Regions from separate parts of the Homo sapiens genome. Here region 2 is linked to region 1. The links are contacts of gene promoters, found by promoter capture Hi-C in human tissues and cell types (Jung and others, 2019). All regions are on one chromosome and are shown on one strand. The core of a region is centred on a gene start or on the middle of the fragment in contact, and the rest is flanking DNA. Distances in the headings are between cores, read along the strand shown. Region 1 holds the start of PKMYT1 (protein kinase, membrane associated tyrosine/threonine 1). Region 2 holds the start of C16orf90 (chromosome 16 open reading frame 90).

Evidence for each region. The method cuts DNA at HindIII sites, captures the fragments that hold promoters and counts their contacts. A contact is called where the count stands out against the background at its distance.
Region 2: the fragment with the promoter of C16orf90 here is called in contact with the fragment with the promoter of PKMYT1 in region 1 in 1 of the 25 tissues and cell types used here (spleen).

The regions. Positions count from the first base shown.
Region 1 is chr16:2,977,623-2,985,308 of GRCh38, reverse strand. It overlaps PKMYT1 (protein kinase, membrane associated tyrosine/threonine 1), which reads left to right and starts at 4,863. Exons shown (of 9, transcript NM_004203.5): 1 at 4,863-5,023; 2 at 5,397-5,661. The coding sequence starts at 5,652. RefSeq lists silencers at 1,387-1,573, 1,528-1,587, 1,828-1,877, 4,530-4,889, 4,900-5,129 and enhancers at 1,998-2,499, 3,544-4,420, 4,421-5,296, 5,297-6,173. The HindIII fragment of the contact is 14,611 bases long and covers 1-7,686 here.
Region 2 is chr16:3,492,217-3,499,902 of GRCh38, reverse strand. C16orf90 (chromosome 16 open reading frame 90) reads left to right here and starts at 4,414. Exons shown (of 3, transcript NM_001080524.2): 1 at 4,414-4,527; 2 at 5,026-5,379; 3 at 5,916-6,419. The coding sequence starts at 4,482. The coding sequence ends at 6,064. It also overlaps a transcript of CLUAP1 not described here and the pseudogene RPL18P12. RefSeq lists a silencer at 6,646-6,855. The HindIII fragment of the contact is 9,668 bases long and covers 3,657-7,686 here.

The DNA of each region.
Region 1 (7,686 bases), core at 3,614-6,113:
CCAGCCTGACCACATGGAGAAAACCTGTCTCTACTAAAAATACAAAATTAGCCGGGCGTGGTGGCACATGCCTGTAATCCCAGCTACTCTGGAGGCTGAGGCAGGATAATTGCTTGAACCCGGGAGGTGGAGGTTGCGGTGAGCCGAGATCGCACCACTGCACTCCAGCCTGGGCAACAGGAGTGAAACTCCGTCTTAAAACAAAACAAAACAAAACCAAACCTTATGCAATTCCTTTGGTGTAGTGTCAGAAAAATAAAAGCCTTATGCAAGTGTGGCCAGGCACAGTGCTCATGCCTATAATTCCAGTACTTCAGGAGGCCGAGGCAGGAGGATTGTTTGAGCCCAGGAGCTCGAGACCAGCCTGGGCAACATAATGAGACCCCCGTCTCTACAAGAAATTAAAAATTAGCCAGGGTTGGGTGGTGCACCCCCGTGGTTCCAGCTACTTGGGAGGCTGAGGTGGGAGAATCACTTGAGCTTGGGAGGTTGAGGCTGCAGTGAATCGTGATCATACTATTGCCTGGGCAACAGAGTGAGACCCTGTCTCAAAAATAATCAAAACACAGGCTGGGCGCGGTGGCTCACGCCTGTAATCCCAGCACTTTGGGAGGCCGAGGCGGGTGGATCACCAGGTCAAGCGATTGAGACCATCCTGGCCAACGTGGTGAAACTCTGTCTCTACTAAAAATAAAAAAATCAGCTGGGCATAGTGGTGTGCGCCTGTAATCCCAGCTACTCGGGAGGCTGAGGCCGGAGAATCGCTTAACCCGGGAGGTGGAGGTTGCAGTGAGCCGAGATCGCGCCACTGTACTCCAGCCTGGCAACAGAGCAAGGCTCCGTCTGAAAATAAATAAATAAATAAATAAATAAAATAAAAAACCTTATTCAAGTGTGAAACATAGCATGCAAAGATTAGCACACATGAGATGTGAATGTGCCGTGCAGCTATCGTACTTATGAGACAAACCCCTATGCACCCAGCACCTGGGTCAAGAAGTAGAACATAGCCAGTTCCGCAGAAGCACCCATCACAGTCCCCTTCCTCCCATTAGGATAGCCACGTTTGCACTTGTGGTCGTCATTCCCTCGCTTTTTTTCTTTTGAGACGGAGTCTTGCTCTTGTCGCCCAGGCTGGAGTGCAGTCGCGCCATCTCGGCTCACTGCAACCTCCGCCTCCCGGGTTCAAGCGATTCTCCTGCCTCAGCCTCCTGTGTAACTGGGATTACAGGCGCCCGACACCACGCCTGGCTAATTTTTGTGTTTTTAGTAGAATCGGCGTTTCACCATGTTAGCCAGGCTGGTCTCAAACTCCTGACCTCAGGTGATCCGCTCGTCTCGGCCACCCAAAGTGCTAGGATTACAGGCGTGAGCCACCGCGCCCGGCCTCGCCTTTCCTTTTGTGGCCGAAACCGCATGAGTGAGTCTTCCTTGGAGAGTCTGGGCGGAGCCGCGGGTGCTGTGGCGGCGACGGGACACACGGGGGCGCGCGCGGCCCGCGCCTGGTCGCGCGGGTGGGACTCGCGGGAACCGGGTGCCTGGGCGGCGGCTGGGAGGATTCCTCCTGGAAGGAGGTCGGCAAAGCGCTTTGGTCCGGAACCCTGTGGGCCCGTGCCTCGGTCCCTGTGACCCCAAGGTGGTTAGAGGAGTCCGGGCTTCTTTCCTCCTGGGGCCTCTTTTTGGCCCAGACTGCAGCGTTGAAAACTGCAACAGACTGTACAGATGAGGGGGTCTTACTATTTTATTATTATTATTATTATTATTATTATTATTATTATTATTATTAATTTGAGACCGAGTCTCGCTCTGTCGCCCAGGCTGGAGTGCAGTGGCGCCATCTCGGCACACTGCAGCATCCACCTCCTGGGCTCAAGCGATCCTCCCACCTCACCCTCTTGACTAGCTGGGAGCACAGGTACACACCACCATGCCCAGCTAATTTTTGAATGTTTTGTAGAGACAGGGTTTTGCCATATTGCCCAGGCTGGTCTCTAACTTCTGAGCTCAAGTGACCTGCCCGCCTCAGCCTGCCAAATTGCTGGGATTACAGGCGTGACCACCTCGCCCAGCCTGTTATTCTGAAACAATGAGTAAGCCCCTACTGTGTGTTCGGCTCTGTGCTAAGCACTTCACAGGCATTTTCTCATGTGGTGCTCATACTCCCCGAGGAAGGAGGAACTACTATTATTATCACTTTATATTTTTTACAGGGTCTCACTCTGTTGCCCAGGCTCACTGCAGCCTTTTTTTTTTTTTTTTTTTTTGAGACAGAGTCTCGCTCTTGTCACCCAGGTTGGAGTGCAGTGGTGCGATGTGGGCTCACTGCAACCTCTGCCTCCCAGGTTCAAGCAATTCTGCCTCAGCCTCCCGAGTAGCTGGGATTACAAGCGCCTGCCATCACACCCAGCTAATTTTTGTATTTTTAGTAGAGAAGGGGTTTCACCATATTGGCCAGCCTGGTCTCGAACTCCTGAGCTCAAGTGATCCACCTGCCTCAGCCTCCCAAACTGCTGGGGTTACCAGCATGAGCCACTGCACCCGGCCCTCACTGCGGCCTTTAACTCCAGGGATCAAGTGATCCTCCTACTCCAGCCTCCTGAGGAGCTGGGACTACAGGTGTGTACCACTGTGCCTCACTGCTTTATTTCTTCTTTCTTTTCTTTTTTTCTCTCCCTTTCTTTCCTTCCTTCCTTTCCTTTCCTTTCTTTCTTTCTCTTTTTCTTTCCCTTTCTTCCCTTCCTTTTCTTTCTTTTTTCTTTCTTGAGACAGGGCCTTGCTATGTTGCCTAGTCTAGAAAACTATTATTTTTATCCCCATTTTACACACGCAGAAACTGGGGCAGGCAGGATCGCAGCCCTAGTTTCCCTCACACCACGCACTTATCTGCTCCATCTACTTATTTCCATTTACATATATTTATATTACAGCCTTTCCTCACACAGTGAAATTTACATCGGAAGCATGTGTTTCCATGCTTTTTTTTTTTTTTTTTTAATTATCATTGTGAATCAGACTTTAAAAAATGGGCGGTTGGAAGGGGACCTGTTGGGGAGATGGGGCTGGCAGAGGTAGCCCTAGGCAGCTGGGGAGGGGCCTGTGTGTGCCCCAGGCCTCCTGGGGGCCAGTCTGGAGTCATCAACAAGGATCCTGCCTGAGTCACTGGGGCACAGCCGCCAGAGATGCGAAGGACAAGGAAAGGTGCAGGCAGGTGGGCTGCCGCCCCCAGCCAGGATCCCAGCCTCTCCTCCCCCACACTGCTGCTCCATGCACAGAACGTTTACAGAGGGTGCAGGAACTGAATGGGTGGGAAGCTTTGCAGTCCATGACCTGTCAGAGACTTGGGGAGGATGGAGGGTTTGGGGGACTGGTTCTGGAGGCCAGGGCTAGAAGGAGCAGGTAGTCAACAAGTAAACTCACAAACAAAAGATAGAACATCGGACAGAGATCAGGGCAATAGCAAAAATAAGGCGGAAGGAGAGGTGAGAGTGAGAAGGCCAGCGTTTGGGGGAGGGTTGGCCGGAAGCGTACTCCTCCCACCCAGTTAAACAGATAAAGAGCCCCTCGGTGAGGGAAGGAACAATCCCTAGCCCGACTTGCTCCGCGAGGGCCCCTGCTAATCACTTTAGGGGATCATCCCAGCGTCCTCAGCTGTTTTTTTTTTTCCAGGAGAGGAGACTAATCCGAAGCTCAGAAAGGCTCAGTGCATTCCCAAGGTCGTTCAGCCAGGAGAGCGCTGAAGGGATCTGAGCTGAGAGCAAGTCTCAAACTCAGAGAATGGAGGAGCTGCCCCGGAAGTGGCTGCTCGAGGCTGCAGTGAACTATGATCCTGCGGCCAATCGCGGTGGCTCACGCCTGTAATCCCAGCCTTCTGGGAGGCCGAGGCGGGCGGATCGCTTGAGGTCAGAAGTTCGACACTAGCTTGGCCAACATGGTAAAACACCGTCTCTACAAAAAAATGCAAAAATTAGTTGGGTGTGGTGGCGCGCGCCTGTGGTCCCAGCTACTCAGGAGGCTGAGGTGGGAGGAACGCTTGAGCGGGGGAGGCGGAAGTTACAGTGAGTCGAGATCGCCCCACTGCACTCCAGCCTGGACAACAGAATGAGACCCTGTCTAAAAATAAAATACATGAGCCGAGTGCGGTGGCGCGCGCCTGTGATCTCACATACTCGGCAGGCTGAGGTTGGGAGAACCGCCTGAACCTGGGGACTGCACCACTGCATTCCAGCCTTGGTGACAGTGAGACCCTGTCTAAAAAAAAAAAAAAAAGTATCTGAGGCCTGTTGGCAGGGAAGCTGCAGGCAGGCGAGGTCAGGCCAAGCAGAGTCCTGCCTATCTGGAGAGCTTCCTGGAAGAGGCGGCTTTTTCTGGCTCCCGAAGCCGTGCGCTAGGGGTTGGGGGTCGTGCGTCTGGCCTCCCACCGCGACCCTGGTTCAGAACACGGCCGGAGTGAGAAGGGGGGTGCCGGGACCCAGGAGGCCGTAGGGACTTCCTGGTCCTACCCGGAGTAACCCTGGGGCTACGCCTGCTCCGAGCACCGGGATGGCGGTCCCTTTTATGGACCCAAACACTACGCCAGCCCAGCGAGGGCGGTGGGTGTCGGGTGCGAGGCCTGGAGGGCAGTGGGCGTCCCAGGGACTGGGCGGCTGAAGCCCCGCGCAGCGACTCAGAACCAGGCCGCCACCCACGCCCCGGGCCAGCGCGGAGAATCCTGTGCGCCTGCGCAGTGAGCGGCGGGGCGGCTCGGCGGCGCGCACGCAGCACGAGGGGCGGAGCCTCGGAGCCCGGGCACCCCTGACGGGCTGCACTGGGGAGGGGGAGGAGCCTCGAGGCCGGTTTGGAATTTTTGGCGCGAGCAGCTCCGCGCGCGTTCACGGGCCGTTCCCCCTCACGGGAGTCCTCCGCCCGGGCGTCCGGAACAGTCGACGGCAGACTCCGGCCCGCTGAGCCACCCGAGGGGTCCCGTGGCCTCCGCGGACCCGGAATCTGGGCCCTCGCGGACCCGCGCCCCGCCCAGTCGCCCCAGGTGAGCCCAGACCCCGCCGTGAGGGGCCTCGGCGTGGCCACCTCGCCGCTCCCCTCCGCCTCGCCAGGTCTGCGTTACCCCTGCCCCTCAGGCCTCCCCGGCGGCCCGCTCGCGTCCCCTCAGGCCCGCCCCCGCGAGCCCCTGCCTCCCGTCCTCCCCAATTCCTGGTTCCCTTGCCTCGAGCCCCTTCCCAGCGGCGGTCCCGCCCTACTCGCCCCTCCCGGAGACCCCGCCTGCTGTCCATCAACCCCGCGCCGCCGCCCTCCCCGTGACAGTCCTTCCTCCGTGACAGCCCCTGCCCCGGGACAGCCTCTCTTCTTCTGCAACAGCCCCTCTTCCCTCGTGACAGCCCGTCCACTGCTCTGTTCGCCAGGGCTTCCCCACACCCACGGAGTGAAGTCAGCCGCGGCCCTGCCTGGGAGGAACTTACCGTCTACCGGGAAAGGTGGCCAGCAGATGTGTCGGGCCTGGTGAGAGGGTGAGGCGAGACGGCCCGATCGCCCAGGGCCCCGGAAGCTGCGGAGGTCACCCCCGCCTGGCCTTAGCTCAGGGACACCCTGGATTCACGTGGGAGCCCCTGCTCCTGCCTCCCCCGTCCCACCACTGAGGCTGTTGGGCCAGGCCAGTCATGCTAGAACGTAAGTCGTAGGGCAGGGACGGTGGGAGAACTGGGTTAAGATGCACAGGCCCAGGTCCCCGAGTGTGCCAGGGTTGGGCCTGGAGGCTGTGCTTGTGACCAGTGACCTCCAGGATCCCAACACCCTGGCTCCTGACTTGGAGAAACCCTGGGCTGGGACTCTGAGGTAGTTAGAGTCAGAGGAAGAGTCTCCACAAGATGGAGGGCAGCCTGCCAGCCAGGCCCAGGTAGCATCGCTCCCCTCACCCCTGTACTCCCTCAGGTACTGGAGACTGCTCTTTTTAATTTTTTATTTACTATTATGTATATTTTTTTGAGATGGAGTTTTGCTCTTGTCGCCCAGTTGGAGTGCAATGCCGCAATCTCGGCTCACCGCAACTTCCACCTCCTGGGTTCAAGCATTTCTCCTGCCTCAGCCTCTGAGTAGCTGGGACTACAGGCATGCACCAGCACGCCCGGCAAAAATTTGTATCTTTAGTAGAGATGGGGTTTCACCATGTAGGCCAGGCTGGTCTCGAAGTCTTGACCTCAAGTGATCCACCCACCTTGCCTCCCGAAGTGCTGGGATTACAGGCGTGAGCCACCACACCCAGCCGCTCTATTGTTTTTTATAATACTTTGGTGCACCAGCCTCACCAACATGGTGAAACCACATCTCTACTAAAAATATAAAAATTATTCTAGTGTGTTGGCACACGCCTGTAATCCCAGCTACTCAGGAGGCTGAGGCAAGAGAATTACTTGAACCTGGGAGTCGGAGGCTGCAGTGGGCCGAGATCATACCACTGCACTCCAGCCTGGGCAACAGAGTGAGACCCTGTCTCAAAAACAAACAAACAAACAATACCTTGGGGCATAAAGTGTTCCACGGTCCAATCCAATTAAATTTTTTTTTTTTTTTGAGACAGAGTCTCGCTCTGTTGCCCAGGCTGGAGTGCAGTGGCATGATCTTGGCTCACTGTAATCTCTGCCTCCCAGGTTCAAGCAATTCCCCTGCCTCAGCCTCCCGAGTAGCTGGGACTACAGGCATGCACCACCACACCCAGCTAATTTTTGTATTTTTAGTAGAGATGGGGTTTCACCATGTTGGCCAGGCTGGACTCGAACTCCTCACCTCAGGTGATTTACTCACCTCAGCCTCCTAAAATGCTGGGATTACAGGCATGAGCCACTGTGCCTGGCCAGATCCAATTAATTTTGAGCTCCTTTGACAGGGTGGCTTTTGAGGTCAGTGAGGTTTGTTCTGACAGCAGGCAGGCTCTTCCTAGCTAGCTCTTTCTCCACTTCTCTGTGGTAAACTAGCTGGCCTATGGTTCAGCTGGTTGCCCTAATGCGGGTACCAGTCTCTTCTTAATGGCGCACCACCAAAACTTCCACTGATTTTGACAGCCCCTTTAAACTTGAACTTCCCTACGCACTGTTTCAAATCAAGCCAATTTTCAGGGGGTTGGTGGGTGGGGAGAGCTCTATTTATGACCTACGTCTACCCCTAGGCTAAATCTCTGTCTGAGCCATGCTGTGGAACTGGGGGCAGGACAGCGGGGCACCTCTCTGAGTGCTGCTATTGCTTTAGGAGCAGGTCGCTGGGTTGGGCAGGAGCCTCTGGCCTTCTTGGTTGCCCTCTCCCAGTGTGGAGCCTCCTTCCTACAAATGAGCTGGGGCTCCATGTTCCCAGCCTGCCGGGCCTGAGATATAGCCTCTATTCTATGCTTGGGGGCAGGTGGAAGAAAGGAGCCCCTGGCCTGTCTGCCACACTCAGCTGGAATTTAGCCTCTGCCATGTGGAGCTGGGAGGGTTGAGAAGTGCTGAGAACCTGGCCCTCCTGGGCAAACACCCTAACCCTTGACGGGGAGCTGGGGGAGAGGGAGCCCTTCTTCTTGGCCACACCTGCCCCCAGTGCTAGGCGGGGGGAGAGGGGTGCTGGAGGTGGGAGGGCAGGAGTGTCATGGCTCAGGTGCCAACAGGCTTGCCATTATTCCCAGGCCTTGGCAGGTTTTCTTGTGTAAACCTTTGTTTGCTGTGTGCC
Region 2 (7,686 bases), core at 3,165-5,664, 520 kb before region 1:
TTCTGTGTTTTGGCAGACTGGCCTGTCTCTAAGTTCGCATTGATTACGTGGCACCTTGCACTAGCGATTCCATTCTGGTTTGGTCTGGTCCGTTGGTACCTTGTGCAGGAGCTCGCTCCAAAACAATGGCCTCCCATAAATGTTGCTTCACGTGTTATTAAGAAAAACAAAAGATAAGCCACAGTCTAGAAGAAAATATGCACAAAACACATATCTGATAAAGAGACGTGTATCCAGAATGTATCAAGAACTCTCAACACTCAATAATGAGAAACAGTCTAATTAGAGAATGGAGAAAACATTTTAAAAGCTACTTCACAAAAGAAGATATATGGATGGCTAATATGCAAATGAAGAGATGATCAAGGCTATTATTAGAGAAGTGCATATTAAAACCACAATGAGATATCACTATGAAGTTATTAAACTGGCTAAAATATCAGGTAACACGTTAAAAACCTAAAAATTAAATCTAGATAAAATGGCTAAAACAACAAAAAACTCTTGACAATGCCAAGGGCTTGAAAGGATGTTGATCAACTTGAACTTTTTTTTTTGAGATGGACTCTTGCTCTTGTTGCCCAGGCTGGAGTGCAGTGGCACAATCTCGGCTCACTGAAACCTCCGCCTCCAGGGTTCAAGCGATTTTCCTGCCTCAGCCTCCGGAGGAGCTGGGATTACAGACGCGCGCCACCGCGCCCAGCTAATTTTTGTATTTTGGGTAGAGACGGAGTTTCGCCATGTTGGCGTGAGTCACCGCACGCGGCCTGCATTTCCCTGATGATTAAAGATGTTGAACATCTTTTTACGTGTTTGATGACCATTTGTATATTTCCATTGGAAAAATGTCTATTCATTTTCTTTGCCCATTTCAAAATTGGGTTGAACATCCTTTTGTTTTTGAATTGTAAGTGTTCTTTATATATTCTGCCTATGAGACCCTTATCAGATATATGATTTGCCAATATTTTCTTCCATTTCATAGGTTGTCTTTTCACTTTTTTTTGTTGTTGTTGTTTGTTTGTTTGTTTGTTTGTTTTTTGAGATGGAGTCTCGCTCTGTTACCCAGTCTGGAGTGCCAGTGGTGCGATCTCGGCTCACTGCAAGCTCTGCCTCCTGGGTTTACGCCATTCTCCTGCCTCGGCCTCCCAAGTAGCTGGGACTACAGGCGCCCACCACCACACCCGGCTAATTTTTTTGTATTTTTAGTAGAGACGGGCTTTCACCGTGTTTGCCAGGATGGTCTGGATCTCCCGACCTCATGATCCGCCCGCCTATGTTGGCCAGGCTGGTCACAAACTCTTGACCTCAGGTGATCTGACCACCTGAGTGTCCCAAAGTGCTGGGATTACAGGTGTGAGCCACCATGCCCAGCCGTGTTTCTGATTTCTGAAGATTTGCTTTTCCAAGATTGTTGTGGTTATTTGGGCTCCCTTGTAATTTCACATGAATTTTAGGATTAGCTTTTCCATTTCTGCTTGTGATGCTTAATTTTGTGTGTCAACTTGACTGGGATGCCTGATAGCTGGTAAAACATTATTTTTCAGTGTGCTTGTGTAAGCGTTTCCAGAAGAGATTAGCATTTGAATTGCTAGACTGAGTAAAAAAAAAGAAGATTGCCCTCACCAGTGTGGTGGGCATCATCCAATCTGCTGGGTGCCCAATTATGACAAAAATGCAGAGGAGGGGTGAATTCACACTCTCTTCATGGGCTGGGACATCCTTCTTCCCGTGCCCTTGGACATTGGAGCTCCTGGTTCTTGGACTTCTGGACACCAGGACTTACACCAGCCCTCACCCCCACCCCTACCCAGATTCTCATGCTTTTGAACCCAGACTTAATTACAGCACCAGTTTTCCTGGTTCTCCAGCTTGCAGGCAGCATATTGTGCGACTTCTCAGCCCGGATAATCACATAAGCCAATATCCCTAATAAATCTTCTCTTGGCTGGGCACGGCGGCTCACACCTATCACCCCAGCACTTTGGGAGGTGGAGGCAGGAGGATCACTTGAGCCCAGGAGTTCAAGACTAGCTCTGGGCAACATGGTGAGATCTCCATCAGCAAAAATTTAAAAAATTAAAAATTAAAAAATGAAAATAAATTAAAAAATTAGCCAGGCCTGGTGGTGCACACCTGTAGTCCCAGCTACTTGGGAGGCTAAGGTGGGAGGATTGCCTGAGCCTGGTAAGTTGAGGTTGCAGTGAGCCGTGATCATGTCACTGTACTTCAGCCTGGGCAATGGAGCAAGGCCCTATCTCAGAAAAAATTATATAAGGAGATTTATTTATCCTCTAATAAATATTTTCTCTGTAAATATCTATATACATTCTGCTGACTATATTTCTCTGGAGAAGCCTAATACACTACATGAAGGCCATTTTGATTTTGATAAGAATTGTACTGAGCACTTTGGGGAGTGTTGCTATCTTAACAATATTAAGTCTTCAGTCCATGAACATGTGATGCTTTCCAATTTATTTAAGTCTTTAGATTCTCTCAGCAATGTTTTATAGTATTCAGAGTTGTCTTATACCTCCTTGGTTAAATGTATTCCTATTTTATTCTTTTTATTCTTTGCTAGTATCTAGAAATACAATTAATTTTTGTGTGGTGATTTTATGACTTGAGATTTTTCTGAACTTCATTAGCTCTGAAAAAGCTCTACTAGGTTCAGGATTTTTTTTTTTCAAGTATGAATTATTTAATATTTCCTACATACAAGATCAGGTTGCTGGGCGCGGTGGGTCATGCCTGTAATCCCAGCACTTTGGGAGGCCGAGGTGGGCGGATCACCTGACGTCAGGAGTTTGAGACCAGCCTGGCCAACATGGCGAAAGCCTGTCTCTACTAAAAATACAAAGATCCGTTGGGCGTGGTGGTGGGTGCCTGTAATCCCACCTGCTGGGGAGGCCGAGGCAGGAGAAGCTCTTGAACTCGGGAGGCGGAGGTTGCAGTGAACCGAGATCGCGCCACTGCACTCCAGCCTGGGCGCCAAAGTGAGACTCCATCTTAAAAAAAAAAAAAAAGAAAAGAAAAAAAGAAAAATCAGGTCGTCTGTGACAAGAGAAAATTGAATGTTTTAACTTTTTGTTTTTTTGTCAGCATCCAAAATCTTTTTAATAAGAGGGTTCGTTTTTGTAGCCTCGGCTGGCCCGTAGGCCTCTGGCGCGCTCGAACTTCTGGTCCCTGGAGCGGAAATAGCGTTTGGTGTGGCTGTGTGGGGTTCCCAGGGCCTTGCCGAAATGCCGGTACACCTGTCGGCCCTTGCGAAGACCGGAGAGTAGGACGGGGCCGCCGTCCTTGAGGGAGTCCAGGGCCAGCTGATCGAAAGTCAGGATCTTGGCCCCCACCCTGAGGATGCCGCTGTGGGCCGGCTGGTCACGGGCAGCGCACACACCTTAAGTTTGGGCACCTCCTGAACCCTCGCGTCATCCGTTAAGCGTCCCCACAACCACGGCCGTTTTGTTTTCCCAGCCAGGAAGCTTCATCTTCCGGATCATCCGGGAAACGGACAGAGGTGGCCGGTTGGTGCGACTCATAAACAACCTCTTCAGCACAACCTGGTTGAATGTGGAGTTAGTTCGTCTGGACGGTAACCTGTACAGCTTGACCAACAAACAGCCTCAGTTAGATATCCTGGCTCTTGGGCTCTTTGCGCCGAACCTTTAGGTCCTTCTTGTGGCGGACGTCAGCTCCCATGATGGCGCTTCCTGCTTGGCCAGGTCCGGAAAGATGAATGTTTAACTTTTTTTTTTTTTTGAGACGGAGTCTCGCTCTGCAGCCCAGGCTGGAGTGCAGTGGCGCGATCTGGGCTCACTGCAAGCTTCGCCTCCCGGGTTCACGCCATTCTCCTGCCTCAGCCTCCTGAGTAACTGGGACTACAGGCTCCCGCCACGACGCCCGGCTAATTTTTTTGTATTTTTAGTAGAGACGGGGTTTCACCGTGTTAGCCAGGATGGTCTCGATCTCCTGACCTCATGATCCGCCCACCCCGGCCTCCCACAGACCTCAACTGATCAGCCTGCCTCGGCCTCCCACAGTGCTGGGATTACAGGCATGAGCCACCGCCCCCAGCCCCTTTTCAGCATTTTCAAAGTACCGACCTAGGTCTTCCTAGGTCTGTACTCCTGAACCCTCATTTCCCACCCCAGATGAGGAAGCTGGCCCCAAGAGATCACCTGAGAGAAGGACTCTCCAGTTTGCCAGAGCTGTCTGTTTTATGTGGCCTGACCCCAGCCAGAGGGACCAGGGACTTCCCCCAGGGTTCTGGCCCCTTCCCATGCCTTTCTTTCACCCTGCCCTTGCCTTGGGCACTGTCCTCTCCCAAACTAGGGGTCCAGGAAGGCTGGGAGTCTTCCCCGTGATGTCATAAGAACCAGTTGCCAGGGGAGACCTGCCAATGTACCCCCTAGGCAGGGGAGAGCAGGGCCCTGCTGCACCCAAGTCCTGGTTGCTCCTCCCCACCACACTGGCCCTCCATGGAAGCCTTGGTCTGTGCATTTTCTGAGCTGCACATAAGAGAAGGTGCCGGGCTGTGGGGAGGAGTGGCAGGAAGAGAGATAGGCTTCTGTCCCCACCTGGGCCCAAAGCCGAGGGGTGGCCTCAGGGACATGTATGCTTGGGAGAGGGGAATGGCCACTGGGCCAGGCCATGAGCCCCTGGGCTGGCCACTTTCTCTCAAACCCACTGTGCAATTTCTCTGTGGGGACCAGAATACTCTTCCTAGGGTAGCGGGCAGAACAGGGTAGTAGAAAGGACTTGAGGTCCTGAAAGCACTCTTAGTACCAAGGCCCGAGGCTTCCCAGGCCTCCCTGTTGGTTGGGAGTGGGAAGAGGAGTCGTGTCTTGGGCATGGGCAGGGGAGGCAGTGGACTGAGACTATTTGACACACAGGTAAACTGAGGCCAGGTTGGCTGGGGGTGTAGCCCATCATGTGAGCTGGTCTCAGAGGTATGTGACTGCACCCTCCCCTCATGGCTGCTGTGGGGGGCTGGCCACCACCCTCCCGCTGTCTCCTCTGCAGATGCAGTGAGCCAGGCCCAAGGACGCCCCGGCCACCCTGACGCACCCCCCAACATCTACGAGGGGGGCCTGGGGTCCCCGCAGCCGCAGTGCCCCAGTGCCCAGGGAAGCAAGCCCAAGAACTTCCGGCTGCGCCACCTCCGGGGCCTGGGCCTCTACCTGGAGAGCCACCCGCCACCCACTGGCCAGTGTGAGAGCCACTGGCTGGGCCGGCTTATGGCTGGGGGCTGCCTGCCACAGCCTGAGGGCACAGCCTGGGCCCTGGACCTGCCACAGGGGACTCTGGGCCCACGTAACAGCCTCTGTTCAGCCCTTCTGGAAGCCCGATTGCCCAGGGACAGCCTGGGAAGCAGTGGTGAGCTCTGTCAAGGCAGGACTGGGCACGGGGGAAGACCCTAGGGGATGGTTGGGCTGGGGCCTCAGGCGGGCCCTTCTCCACTCCCAAGCCTCCACAGTGGCACCATGCCCCAGAAGGCCAAGATCTTGATGAATCTGTCCCCATCTCTGCATCACGCACAGCTAAGCGGGGTCTGGAGAATCCACCAGGGACAAAGCGGTGCGAGAAAAAGGGAGGATCTGGGAGGGAGGGCTGGGTGACTGCCCCAGCTCCACACTCGGTGAGGGGCCTTGGAATCTGTCTCCCTTGCTGGGCCTCAGTTTTCTCACTTGTAAAATGAGGGTTCAGGTTAGATGAGGGTCCTTCCAGCTTGAACCATTCTGTTCCCTCAACCTCCTCCCTCCCCTGGGGATTCTGTTAAGGAGGAAGCATTGCCCTCCTCCCTTCTGTTTTCAAGAATATCGGATTCTGGAAACCCCAGGGTGGGCTGCCAGCCTCCCCCCCAGCCTCCCCTTGGGTCCCTCAAGTGACTCCTTTCTCTCCTCTTTCCTCAGCTTCCAGTTCCAGCATGGACCCAGACAAGGGTGCCCTCCCCCAGCCTAGTCCTTCTAGGCTCAGGCCCAAGAGGTCCTGGGGGACCTGGGAAGAGGCCATGTGTCCCTTGTGCAAGAGAACCCGCTCTGGGGCCCTGGAGAGGCCATAGGGATCCCGAGTGCCAGGACTGGGTACAGGAGGGGCAGGATGGCCGAGGAGGCAGCCTGAGCAGGAGGGGCTCGGCCCCCGGCAGTGGCCCTGCCACATGGGGTGGCCCAGGCAGCGGCCCAGCGCCCAGGCCTGGGCCTCGGGAGAATGTGATGGGGAGAGGGAGGAGGAGGAGGTTCCGAGGGAGGGGCAGAAGCAATAGAAGCATGGCCGTGCCCTTGCAGCCTGCTTAGACTCCAGTCAGCCACTTGTACCTGGGAGGCCGGGCTGAGTGCAGAATCAGGCCCCCCCGCCACCGCCTCCCTGAGAGGCCGGGGAGCCCACAGCTCTGATCTCAATAAAAGCCAAGGCCTGCACGTTCTTGTCCATCTGCCTGTCTGTCATCAGGCCAGTTTGGTGAGAAAAACAGTCCTGTGTCTCTCCAGGGATGGGTCTGCCGCGCCCCCACTCTTAGTTGCCAGGGCATGAGAGGCGTGAGCTAGGGCAAGGGCCTGTGGGAACACCATACTTGTCTGTGAGAGCTTCCTGGATGAGACACTGCTGAGCTTGGCTCCATAGGGTGGGTAGGGGCTCAACAGCCCACCTTTTCAGCCACCATGCCTGGCTAATTTTCTTTTCTTTTTTTTTTTGAGATGCAGTCTAGAACTGTCTAGAGGCCAATTTAGAGCCAGTTTTCTTTGGGGCCAGCATGTGGCTGCAGCAGATGTCCTTCTCAGGGGTGAGATCCTGGCTACGGCTGTCTGTGGCTGAGTTACAGACTGTCTTTTTTTTTTTTTTTTTTTTGAGACGGAGTCTTGCTCTGTGGCCCAGGCTGGAGTGCAGTGGTGCAATCTCGGCTCACTTCAAGCTCCAACTCCCAGGTTCACGCCATTCTCCTGCCTCAGCCTCCCGAGTAGCTGGGACTATAGGCGCCCGCCACCGCGCCCGGCTAATTTATTTGTATTTTTTTAGTAGAGACGGGGTTTCACCGTGTTAGCCAAGATGATCTCCATCTCCTGACCTCAGCCTCCCAAAGTGCTGGGATTACAGGCGTGAGCCGCCGTGCCCGGCCTAATTTTCTGTTGTTTTAAGAGTTGGGGGGAGGGGGTCCTGCTGTTGCCCAGGCTGGTCTCAAACTCCTGAGCTCAAGTGATCCTCCTGCCTCAGGAGGATCCTAAATGCAGGCCATGGCATTGTGGGTGGAGGGCGCAGCGGATGAAGGAAGGCAGGGCGGGGTCAGGGAGGGCACCAGGGAGGACAGCAGCAGAGGCAGGGATGTGGACCTCGGCCCCACCTGCCCCCTACCAGGTGAGGTCACTGCTCCGCGGGACCCCAGCTCCCAGGTCCCTCTGGGCAGGATGAGCACAGCCCTTCTCCTCCCAGCCGGACCAGACTCTGCGCACCCAGGTGTGGGCTTCCTCTGTGCCGGGGTGTCTCCACTCGACTCTGTTGATGTTTGGGATGGGATCTTTCTTTGGGATGGAGGCTGTCCTGTGCATGTAGGATGTTAAGCAGCATCTCTGGCCACCACCCACTTGGTATCTGTAGCACCCTCCTCTAAGCTGTGACAGCAAGTGTCTCCAGACATTGTCCGGTGTCCCTCGGGAGCACTGTTACTGTGGATGAGAAGCCTGCTGATACAGT